Regions from separate parts of the Homo sapiens genome. Here all the other regions are linked to region 1. Evidence: promoter capture Hi-C in 16 types of primary human blood cells and fetal thymus (Javierre and others, 2016). All regions are on one chromosome and are shown on one strand. Each heading gives the region's core, a stretch centred on a gene start or on the middle of the fragment in contact. The rest is flanking DNA. Distances are from core to core; before and after follow the strand shown. Region 1 holds the start of SLC35G5 (solute carrier family 35 member G5). Region 2 overlaps DEFB134 (defensin beta 134). Region 3 has its middle 16 kb from the start of DEFB136.

Region 1 (3,867 bases), core at 480-2,979:
ACTCAGAAGCTGGAGTGGGAAGATCACTTGAGCCCAGGAGTTCCCTCTCCCTCTCTTTCCATGGTCTCCCTCTGATGCCGAGCCAAAGCTGGACTGTACTGCTGCCATCTCGGCTCACTGCAACCTCCCTGCCTGATTCTCCTGCCTCAGCCTGCCGAGTGCCTGCCATTGCAGGCTCGCGCCGCCACGCCTGACTGGTTTTCGTATTTTTTTGGTGGAGACAGGGTTTCGCTGTGTTGGCCGGGCTGGTATCCAGCTCCTAACCGCGAGTGATCCGCCAGCCTCGGCCTCCTGAGGTGCCGGGATTGTAGACGGAGTCTGGTTCACTCAGTGCTCAATGTTGCCCAGGCTGGAGTGCAGTGGCGTGATCTCGGCTCGCTACAACCTCCACCTCCCAGCCGCCTGCCTTGGCCTCCCAAAGTGCTGAGATTGCAGCCTCTGCCCGGCCGCCACCCCGTCTGGGAAGGGAGGAGCGTCTCCGCCTGGCCACCCATCGTCTGGGATGTGAGGAGCCCCTCTGCCCGGCTGCCCAGTCTGGGAAGTGAGGAGCGCCTCTTCCTGGCCGCCATCCCGTCTAGGAAGTGAGGAGCGTCTCTGCCCAGCTGCCCATCATCTGAGATGTGGGGAGCGCCTCTGCCCGGCTGCGACCCCGTCTGGGAGGTGAGAAGCGTCTCTGCCCGGCCGCCCTGTCTGAGAAGTGAGGAGCCCCTCCGCCTGGCAGCTGCCCCGTCTGGGAAGTGAGGAGCACCCCGCCCGGCAGCCGCCCCGTCTGGGAAGTGAGGAGCGTCTCCGCCTGGCAGCCGCCCCATCCGGGAGGGAGGTGGGAGGTCAGCCCCCGCCCGGCCAGCAGCCCCGTCCGGGAGGGAGGTCGGGGATCAGCCCCCGCCCGGCCAGCCGCCCCGTCCGGGAGGGAGGTGGGGGGTCAGCCGCGGCCTGGCCAGCCGCCCCGTCCGGGAGGGAGGTGGAGGGTCAGCCCCCCACCGGCCAGCCGCCCTGTCCGGGAGGGAGGTGGGGGGTCAGCCCCCACCCGGCCAGCTGCCCCGTCTGGGAGGGAGGTGGGGGGCGCCTCTGCCCGGCTGCCCCTTCTGGGAAGTGAGGAGCCCCTCTGCCCGGCCACCACCCCGTCTGGGAGGTGTACCCAACAGCTCATTGAGAACGGGCCATGATGACGATGGCGGTTTTGTGGAATAGAAAAGGGGGAAAGGTGGGGAAAAGATAGAGAAATCAGATTGTTGCTGTGTCTGTGTAGAAAGAAGTAGACATGGGAGACTTCATTTTGTTCTGTACTGGGAGGGGTTCTTCTGCCTTGGGATACTGTTGATCTGTGACCTTGACCCCAGCCCTGTGCTCTCTGGGGCATGTGCTGTGTCCACTCAGGGTTAAATGGATTAAGGGCGGTGCAAGATGTGCTTTGTTAAACAGATACTTGAAGACAGCATGCTCGTTAAGAGTCATCACCACTCCCTAATCTCAAGTACCCAGGGACACAAACACTGCGGAAGGCCGCAGGGTCCTCTGCCTAGGAAAACCAGAGACCTTTGTTCACTTGTTTATCTGCTGACCTTCCCTCCACTATTGTCCTATGACCCTGCCAAATCCCCCTCTGCGAGAAACACCCAAGAATGATCAATTAAAAAAAAAAAAAAGAAAGAAAGAAAGAAAGAAAAGAAGCAGAGTTGGACTCAGCGGGAAAATAGGCGTGCTACCACCTCAGGAGAGTTCCAGGGAAGAACCCCACCCGCACTCCAATGAGGTCACAATGGCTGGAGCTCTGAGGGGCCCAGGCTCCCTGAGCCAGGAGGAGAGGAGAAAGTCCAAGGAAAGATGGCTGGCAGTCACCCCTACTTCAACCTGCCTGACTCCACACACCCATCGCCGCCCTCCGCTCCACCCAGCCTCCGCTGGCACCAGCGCTGCCAGCCCTCTGGTGCCACCAATGGCCTGCTGGTGGCCCTGCTGGGTGGGGGCCTGCCTGCTGGCTTCGTGGGCCCCCTTTCTCGTATGGCTTACCAGGGTTCCAACCTGCCCTCGCTGGAGCTGCTCATCTGTCGATGCCTCTTCCACCTCCCTATTGCCCTGCTACTTAAACTGCGTGGCGACCCCCTTCTGGGACCTCCTGACATCCGAGGCTGGGCCTGCTTCTGTGCCCTGCTCAACGTCCTCAGCATTGGATGTGCCTACAGTGCAGTTCAGGTGGTGCCCGCTGGCAACGCTGCCACTGTTCGCAAAGGTTCTTCCACCGTATGCTCCGCTGTCCTCACCCTCTGCCTTGAGAGCCAGGGTCTCGGTGGCTACGAGTGGTGTGGACTGTTGGGCAGCATCCTAGGACTAATCATCATTCTGGGACCTGGACTCTGGACACTACAGGAGGGGACCACAGGTGTCTACACCACCCTGGGCTATGTGCAGGCTTTCCTGGGAGGCCTGGCGCTGTCCCTGGGGCTTCTGGTCTATCGTTCTCTGCACTTTCCCTCCTGCCTCCCAACAGTGGCCTTCCTATCTGGCTTGGTGGGGCTGCTGGGCTGTGTGCCAGGCCTCTTTGTGCTGCAGACCCCCGTGTTGCCCAGTGACCTCCTGAGTTGGAGTTGTGTGGGGGCAGAGGGGATCCTCGCCTTGGTCTCCTTCACATGTGTGGGCTATGCGGTCACCAAGGCCCACCCTGCCCTGGTGTGCGCTGTCCTGCATTCCGAGGTGGTTGTGGCCCTTATACTGCAGTATTATATGCTCCATGAGACTGTGGCACTTTCTGACATCATGGGGGCAGGGGTTGTGCTGGGCAGCATTGCCATCATTACAGCCCGGAACCTCAGCTGTGAGAGGACAGGGAAGGTGGAGGAGTGAGATAGAACTTGGGAGCCCGGGGGTTGGGAGGGACAGGGATAAATAAAGACAAAGACTGAAGACAAAAAAAAAATAAAAGAAAAAAAATAATTATAATAAATCCTAGGAAAGAGTGAAAGTCTAACTTCCATAGCACATTATAATATTGAGATGTTCAGTTATAATAAAAATATCACAAAGCATGCAAACAAATGAGAAATCTGGCTTATTTACAGGAATAAAATTAATTGAACTATCCTTAAGGAATCCCAGACTTTGGACTTACTAGACAAAGACTAAACAATTGTCTTAAATATGCACAAGAGTTAAAAGACAACTAAATGAAATCAGAGAAATGATGTTTGAACAAAATGAGAATATCAATAAAAATATAAAAATTATAGAAAGGAACCAGGTAGAAATTTTGTAGCTGAAACGTGCGACAACTGAGATGAGAAATTCACTAGAAGGGTTCGATAGAGTTTGTTTGTTTTTTGTTTTTTGCTTTTTTTTTTCTGAGACAGAATCTTGCTCTGTCACACAGGCTGGAGTGCAGTGGCATGATCTCAGCTCACTGTAACATCCGCCTTCTGGGTTCAAGCAATTCTCCTACATCAGCCTCCCAAGTAGCTGAGATTACAGGTGCATGCCACCACACGCAGCTAATTTTTGTATTTTTAGTAGAGATGAGGTTTCACTATGTTGGCCAGGCTGGTCTCAAACTCCTGACCTTGTGATCCACCCGCCTTGGCCTCCCAAAATGCTGGGATTGCAGGCATTAGCCACCACGCCCAGCCTTCCGTAGAGTTTTTGATCAGGCAGAAGAAAGGATCAGCAAATTTGAAGATAGGATTATTGAAATTATCCACTCTGAGGAGCATAAAGAAAAAGAATAAAAATAGTGAATAGACTTCAAGACTTGTAGGATACCATCAAGTGGACCAACATATGGTTTATGAGAGTCCTAGAAAAAAGCAAAAAAGTGTTTTAAAAATGAGGGCTGAAAACATCCCAGATTTGATGAAAGACATAAGTGTACAAATCCAA
Region 2 (3,867 bases), core at 541-3,040, 660 kb after region 1:
AGATGGCCTCTCCTGTTCCAAAGGAACTTCAGGGTCAGACTCAGTGCAGACTCGGGCCAGCCTGTAGTTAAGCCCTGCCTATGCGGTTTATGTGAGAGATGTACAAGGTTGTCAGAAGGCCATGGCAAATCTGCTTCTCTAAAGTTGGGAATTTCACAGAAATGGGAAATGCGAAGCTGAAGCGAAGGTAGGACACGACTTAGGTGTCAAAAGTTGTTTCCCTTGAAGCCTTTCTAAATAATAAGAATATCCTCTATGATTAGAGGGAGAAACAGGTGCTGATGAGCACACTGGACATCACGTTGAGGTGAGAAAATATCTTCTACATTGTTTTTGTGAAAAACCGAGCTCTTTTAAAGAAGGCTACAGCTCAGCTCTTTAAATTTAAGACCACAAGAGTCTGCTGGCCTATAAAAATGCTAAAAACCAGTAGTCATGGACACATCATGGTGTCACAGTTTGATCTAAATTCCCTGGTTTTGTGAAAGATGGCAGAATCAAGGGCCTACAGGATAGTGGCCATTCATTGGTTTCTTATGTCAGGGTGCAGGATTTCCTTTGACACAGCACTCCAGCTGAAACATACAGTAGGCAACTAACATTTCACTCTCATAGCATTCAAGTCTGCAGATGCCATTTTTATAGCATTTCTTGTGCATTTCTGATGATAATGAATTTATACCTGGAAGGAAAATGAATAGAAAGATAATTCACTACAGGCCTTTTTGGACCATAAAATTGCTAGTCCCTCAATTTTTATCCAACCGGATACCAAGGAGATTTGGTTATGATAATTGATCCTGTAACTGAAAAAATTAATTAGTGGTAGGGGCTGAATTGTGTCACCCCAAAATTCATATGCTGAAACCCTCACCCCTGATGTGACTGTCTTTAGAGATAGGGCCTTCAGGAAGTAATATAAGTTAAATGAGGTCATGATGGTGGAACCCTAATCCAATAAGATTGATAGGCTAATCCAATAGGATTGATGGTCTTATTAGTGAAGGTCACGGCAAAAAGATGGCCATCTACAAGCTTGAAAGCAAGCTCTCATCAGAAATTGAATCAGCTAGCACCTTGATCTTGGATTTCTCATCTTCTGGAACTATGAGAAAATAAAGTTTGTCTAAGCCACAGTGTGCGGAATTTTGTTATCGCAGCCCAAGCTGACTAAAACAAGTAATAATTTGGAAGTTTCCCTGAATTTGTCAATGAATATAACCCAAACAATCAAGCTAGCTATTCACATAGTCATTCATTCATTATTTTTTAAATAATTACTTACTCATTATTATTCATAAACCAATTTTTATAAATCCTGTGAATCAAGGACTGTTGGGGTACAGATTTGAGTATGATATAGACCTTAACCTCAATGAATTTTCATTCTAGACAAAAAGAGAAGAAATACAAAATATCTCTGAGAGAGGAAAAAACATGACAAGTGCAATGATGTATTTGCAATGTGGAACGGTCTTGTGAGTTTGAAGGAGGATGAAATCAATTCTGAAGATTTGAGAAGTCTTATTGAAGCTCAAGGAATCTGTAGAAATTTTGAGCAAACACATACCCTATCTGAGTCATAATGCCCTGGAGGATAATTGTCCTACATGAACAAGAAGGGATCAGTGTTACTTAGTTTGCAAGACAGAAGCCCTAGAGGACAATCTGTAACACTTTTGGGAAGATGAAATATAATGGTCTATAAAATGAGACAAGAACTTTCAATGGAAATGACAAGTTATGAGAATGCAAAAGGAATTGAAGGGAATATTGTACACTATATGGGGTTCTTTGTCTGGAGGCCACAAATCCATTGCCATAAACCGTAATGGAATTGGTTGCATCAGCAGCTTTAAGAGGCCTTGATCCCATGAATTCTTAAATTTAGCCTGGTGAGTCACATAATCTGAAGATGTGATTCATTTGCCTGGAGAATACTTCAGGCAAACACTTCAGTCCATCTAGGCAGATGAACCAATCTGACTGGACTGATTCAGTAACACTGAGTGAAAAGAATTTTCCAGATGAGATTGCTAAAGTCGGAAAGGATATGGTGAAGCTAGAGCACAGGGCCACTCACACTCTCTGTCATGTCTCCCTGGCTGCTATCTCATCTGATCAGGCATTTCTTCTATCACATAAAGCTCAGTGATTCTCTTGAAACTAGCCGTTCTAAATCTGTTTCCTCATGTAACTAATGGATTCACAAATAGTAAATTAACTGTAGGAAACTGCAGTATATTAGAAAATTAACAAATTGTGTTGTCACTATTTTCTGGTTTTGACTATTATACTTAGATACATTCTTGAATTAGAGACAAAATAACAGCAGGAAGACAGGATGGGCATTACTAATGAAAATACAATGATAGCTCTCATGAGCCAGGTACTTTTCATATTATGTATGGACATATTCCATACATGATCTGATTTAATCCTTGTGAGACTCTTCATTTCCATATTTCCATTTTTCAAATGAAGAAACTAAGGCTCATTGGTGCGGATCAGTTCAGCCAAAAAAAAAAAGGAAACTAAGGCTCAGAGAAGCTTAGACCTTTGTCCAAAGTTATATAGTTAACAAGTTGGACAGCCAGATTCAAGCCCAGGTCTTGCTGACATCAAAACTAGTTGATGCTTTTTTCTAGCTTGAAAATTAAAGGGCCCATGGGTGGTGTATGTTTATTGGGTTGTTTAGTGGCATTGTTCTTCTATATGAAGCACCCCTACCCCCCAAAATATGCCAGTTTTACCTGCCAGCACTGGATCCCAAAGGAAAAGAAAGACAAACACAACAAGGAGAGGCTTCATGGCTGGGAACTTCTGTTAAGGAGGCTAGTGGCAGGGTCTGACATCGGCTGTCAGGGAACAGAGAGAAGAGGTTGAGCACACAGTCCTATACAAACCTCTCAGGGCTGGGGTATGCCTCGCTTCAGGTAGATATGCTACACTGAACACCCCTGAGGCAGCCGTGTTGGCAATGCTCATCTGAGGAAAAAAAATGGACAGCCCTTTCTTGTTTGACAGCTTTTCCTATTGACAAAGACACTGTTCTCCCACCCAGGTTTTCCAAAAGTACATGGAGGCCTGAGAACTATGTGCTCTTACTCTTTTAAATGAGTAAAATTAAAATTTGATAGGCTTTTGTTCCAATAAAAATGTAATTGCTAATTTTAGAAAATTGGTAAAATATTAAACATGACAAGGATGGACAAGTTACAGATGAACTGCTCTTCTCAGAGACAAACTGTCATTCTAAAGAAAGTTTCATTTATGCCTAGTTTGTTGTTTAATATTTTGTTTTACATAGCTATAAACAATATTCTTATAATTAGGTATCCTGCTTTTGTAACTTGATATATACTATATATCAGTGTCACTATAAACTTCATAAATAGTATTTTTAAGTGTTGCACAATATTTTGTCAAGGTCATTTAAAATAATTGTTACTATTTAAAAAAACATTTTTTATTGAAGTATAAGTGACATACAATAAACTTCAAACAGTAAAGTGTACAATCGGATAAGTTTTGCCATATCTATACGTTTGTGAGACCATTGTCACATTCAAAATAATGAACATATCCATTCCCCCTAACATTTTTTCATGCCTTCTGTAATATTCCCCTCCTGATTCTCTTTCACCTCTCAGTCTAAAGGCCACAACTTTTCTGCTGACACTATAGATTACTTTGTATTTTCTTGGAATTTCATGTGAATAGAATAATATATTCTATACTCTTTCTTGTTGGGTTTCTTTTACTCAGCATAATTATTTGAGATTCGTCCTTGCTATAATATGAATTAGTTGTTCATTCCTTTTCATTGCTGAGCACCACTGCATGGCTATACATCTATGTGTTTAT
Region 3 (3,867 bases), core at 635-3,134, 630 kb after region 1:
GTGGTGCGATCCCGGGTCACTGCAACCTCTGCCTCCCAGGTTCAAGCAATTCTCCTGCCTCTGTCTCCCAAGTAGCTGAGATTACAGGCACGCACCACCACACCTGGCTAATTTTTGTATTTTTAGTGTGGGGTTTCACCATGTTGGCCAGGCTGGTCTTGAACTCCTGACCTCAAGTGATCTGCCCACCTCTGCCTCCCAAAGTGCTGGGATTACAGGTGTGAGCCACTGCACCTGGCCCCAGTTATGTTTTTATTTTTTAAAGAGATGTGCGGGTGGGGGGAGGGTCTCTCTATGTTGCCCAGGCTGGCCTCGAACTCCTAGATTAAAGTGATCTGCTCGCCTCAGCCTCCCAAATTGCTTGGATTACAGCCGTGAGCCACTGGGCCAGCACGGTGCTGTTCTCTTCACTGATTATTATTAATATTTTTGTTTTGCCTCCACCTCCCTTGTTTTCCAAATTTGTGTCTTTCCTTTTATATACATTTTGAATGTACAACTTTTTACAGAATTAAACCCAATTGATACATCTTATCAACTTATCTTTGCTAAGGATTTCCACTTTCTAAGTGGTCAGAAACTGATTTCCACCCATCGTTTTTGCCAACTTCCTTCCTTAAATGCACATGGTGTAGTGCATGGGGCACTGGGCTGCCCCTCCGCAGACCTGGGATCCAGTGCGGTTTCTGGCCTCCCTCACAGTGTGGTCCTGACAATGTTCCTTTGCCTCTCCGAGCCTCAGTTTACTCATCTTCAGAGGTGATTTCCAAGGGCCTTGCCAGATCCATCTCCAGGCATGTGTGTGTGTGTTTGCAGGCGAAGGAGCTGTCATGGGCAGCTTGGCCTTCTGGCAGCTGTCTCATGGGCCCACAGCAGGGGCTGCTTTCCTGCGTCAGACCCAGCAGTGGCAGGAGGGTCTCCCCTGGGACGGCCTCACCCAGTGCGCAGCCTCCCGCTATCCCACCATTAGGCCACTCACTGCTGTGCTCCTTGGTTTGAATGTTTATTTGGGCCCTAGCTCCCCCTTGCTGCGAGAGGAAGGCCACAGCTGTAACCTCGTGTGCCTTTATTGCTGTAAACTGTCACGTTCTGCAAACAGGTCACAGAGAATTTGGAGAGTGGACATTCTTGTAGAGAAATTATGCAAAGAGAGGCTTTGCCTTCATTAATCTACTTTGCATTTATTTATTTATTTATTTGAGACGAGTCTCGCTCTGTTGCCCAGGCTGGAGTGCAATGGTACGATCTCGGCTCACTGCAACCTTCGCCTCCTGGGTTCAAGCGATTCTCCTGCCTCAGCCTCCCAACCAAGTAGCTGGGATTACAGGTGTAGGCCACCACGCCCAGCTAATTTTTGTATTTTTAGTAGAGACAGGGTTTCACCATGTTGGCCAGGCTGGTCTTGAACCCTTGACCTCAGGCGATCCACCTGCCTCAGCCTCCCAAAATGCTGCGATTACAGGCACAAGCCACCGTGCCCAACCCATTAATCTACTTTGCTTTTCAATTTTGTGTTATTGTTATTATTTTTGATAGAAATGATAACAGGAGGTGTAAGCACATGATGATGAGCGCCACCTTGGGGTTGGGGTTGGGTAAAGAAAGGCCTGATTTATTTATTTATTGAGACGCAGTTTCACTCTTGTTGCCCAGGCTGGAGGGCAATTGCGCGATCTCAGCTCACTGCAACCTCCGCCTCCCAGGTTCAAGCGATTCCCCTGCTTCAGCCTCCCGAGTAGCTGGGATTACAGGCATGTGCCACCAGGCCTGGCTAATTTTGTATTTTTAGTAGAGACGGGGTTTGTCCATGTTGGTCAGGCTGGTCTCGAACTCCCAACCTCAGGTGATATGCCCACCTCGGCCTCCCAAAGTGCTGGGATTTCAGGCATGAGCCACCGTGCCCGGCCTATTTTTTTTTATTTTTTACTTTTAATTGTGCTGCAAAACATATAACATGAAATTTATCTTCATAACCACTTTTGAGAGTACGGTTCAGTCGTGTTACATAGACACACATTGTTATGCAATAGGCCTCTAGAACTTTAACTTACAAACAAAAACTGTGTCTGCTTTGCTTGTTATTGAATGCTGACTCTATCCGAAGCATTGTGCTGACCACGAGGACCAAAAAGAAAAGGAAGCAATTGATCGCCAAGCAGAACTTCAGAAAAGATACAGAACTCTCTCAGCTTGTCCACCCCCAACTCCCACCGACACTGAGCAGGCAGGAGAGGTGGCACAGCAGGCAAAGTCTGCCACCTGGTGGCAGGAAAGAGTCACAGTCCACAAGGGAGGCTTCCAGTGGATCCCACAAAAGAAGTGGGGAACAGGAAAGCGGAAGAAGACATTTAGTGCCAGGTATGCAAAACAGCAGGAACTGTTGGATAAATGGAAGTGAAAAAATATTTTTCGCCGGGCACGGTGGCTCACGCCTGTAATCCCAGCACTTTGGGAAGCCGAGGCAGGTGGATCACCTGATGTCAAGAGTTCAAGACCAGCCTGGCCAACATGGTGAAACCTCGTCTTTACTAAAAGTACAAAAAAAATTAGCTGGGCGTGGTGGCGCATGCCTGTAGCCCCAGCTACTCAGGGAGGCTGAGGCAGGACAATCGCTTGCACCCAGGAGGTGGAGGTTGCAGTGAGCCAAGATTGCGCCACTGCACTCCAGCCTGGGCGACAGAGGGAGACTCTGTCTCAAAACGACAACAACAAAAATTTTTAAAGAGACACATTTGGATAATTTTAAAATTATTTTTTGTTTCGCAGGGCATGGTGGCTCACGCCTGTAATTCCAGCACTTCAGGAGGCCGAGACAGGTGGATCACCTGAGGTCAGGAGTTTGAAAGCAGCCTGGCTAACAGGGAGAAATCTTATCTCTATAAAATATACAAAAATTAACCGGGTGTAGTGGCATGCTACTCGTGCTGGAATCACAGATATGTGCCACCGTGCCCTGCCAAACAAAAAATAATTTTAAAAGGCTGAGGCATGAGAATCATTTGAGCTGGGAGGCTGAGGTTGCAGCAAGCCAAGATCGCACCACTGCACTCCACTCTGGGCGACAAAGGGAACCTCTGTCTCAAACAAGACAAAACAAAACCCATGAAAAAACAATGAGATACCACTACACACCCACCAGAAGGTGAAAATGTAGAAGACAGACAATGCTGAGTGTTTGTGAAGATGTGTGGCAAATGGAGCTCTCCCTCTTTGCTGATGAGAATTAAATTGGTGCGAACAACTTGGAAACTTCAGGTATTTACTAAGAAATCAGTGCATGTATTTAAAAAAAATACGTGTACAAAAAGGTTTATAGCAGCTTTTTTTTTTTTTTTTTTCCTGGCAGAGTTTTGCTCTTGTTGCCCAGGCTGGAGTGCAATGGCATGATCTTGGCTCACTGCAGCCTCCACTTCCTTGGTTCAAGCAATCCTCCTGCCTCAGCCTCCCAAGTAGCTGGGACTACAGGCGCCCGCCACCACACCCAGCTAATTTTTTTGTATTTTTAGTAGAGACGGTGTTTCACCATGTTGGCTAGGCTGGTCTTGAACTCCTGACCTCAGGTGACCCACCCACTTTGGGCTCCTAAAGTGCTGGGATTACAGGCATGAGCCACCGCCCCCTGCCAATAGCTCTATTTTTAATAACCAAAAAGTGGAGGCAAGCCAAATGCTCACCAATAGGAGAACAGATACATTGTGGTATAGACAGTAATAAAAAAGAATGAACTGCTCTTCCACAAACAGAATGAACCTAATAAACATAACCTTGACCAAAAGAAACCAGTCACACGAGACTGCACACAGTGTGATTCCATTAACACCAAGTTCAGCCACAGACAAAATTCACTGATGGTCACAGAATTTAGAG

What was found. Contacts are between HindIII fragments. The CHiCAGO score rates a contact against its expected background, and 5 or more counts as called.
Region 2: a fragment that was not itself captured here is called in contact with the fragment with the promoter of SLC35G5 in region 1 in 4 of 17 cell types (naive B cells, total B cells, M2 macrophages and 1 more); the score reaches 10.0 in naive B cells.
Region 3: a contact is called between a fragment that was not itself captured here and the fragment with the promoter of SLC35G5 in region 1, in 2 of 17 cell types (naive B cells and total B cells). The highest score is 7.0, in naive B cells.

The regions. Positions count from the first base shown.
Region 1 is chr8:11,329,283-11,333,149 of GRCh38, forward strand. SLC35G5 (solute carrier family 35 member G5) reads left to right here and starts at 1,730. Exons shown (of 1, transcript NM_054028.2): 1 at 1,730-3,078. The coding sequence starts at 1,825. The coding sequence ends at 2,841. It also overlaps a transcript of MTMR9 not described here. The HindIII fragment of the contact is 5,485 bases long and covers 1-3,867 here.
Region 2 is chr8:11,993,441-11,997,307 of GRCh38, forward strand. It overlaps DEFB134 (defensin beta 134), which reads right to left. Exons shown (of 3, transcript NM_001302695.2): 2 at 2,754-2,858; 3 at 1-682. The coding sequence starts at 2,811. The coding sequence ends at 540. Among named protein-coding and RNA genes, the nearest start is that of DEFB134, 5.4 kb to the right of the region's middle. The HindIII fragment of the contact is 1,515 bases long and covers 1,034-2,548 here.
Region 3 is chr8:11,956,804-11,960,670 of GRCh38, forward strand. No RefSeq gene overlaps it. Among named protein-coding and RNA genes, the nearest start is that of DEFB136, 16 kb to the right of the region's middle. RefSeq lists enhancers at 335-852, 853-1,368. The HindIII fragment of the contact is 4,870 bases long and covers 1-3,867 here.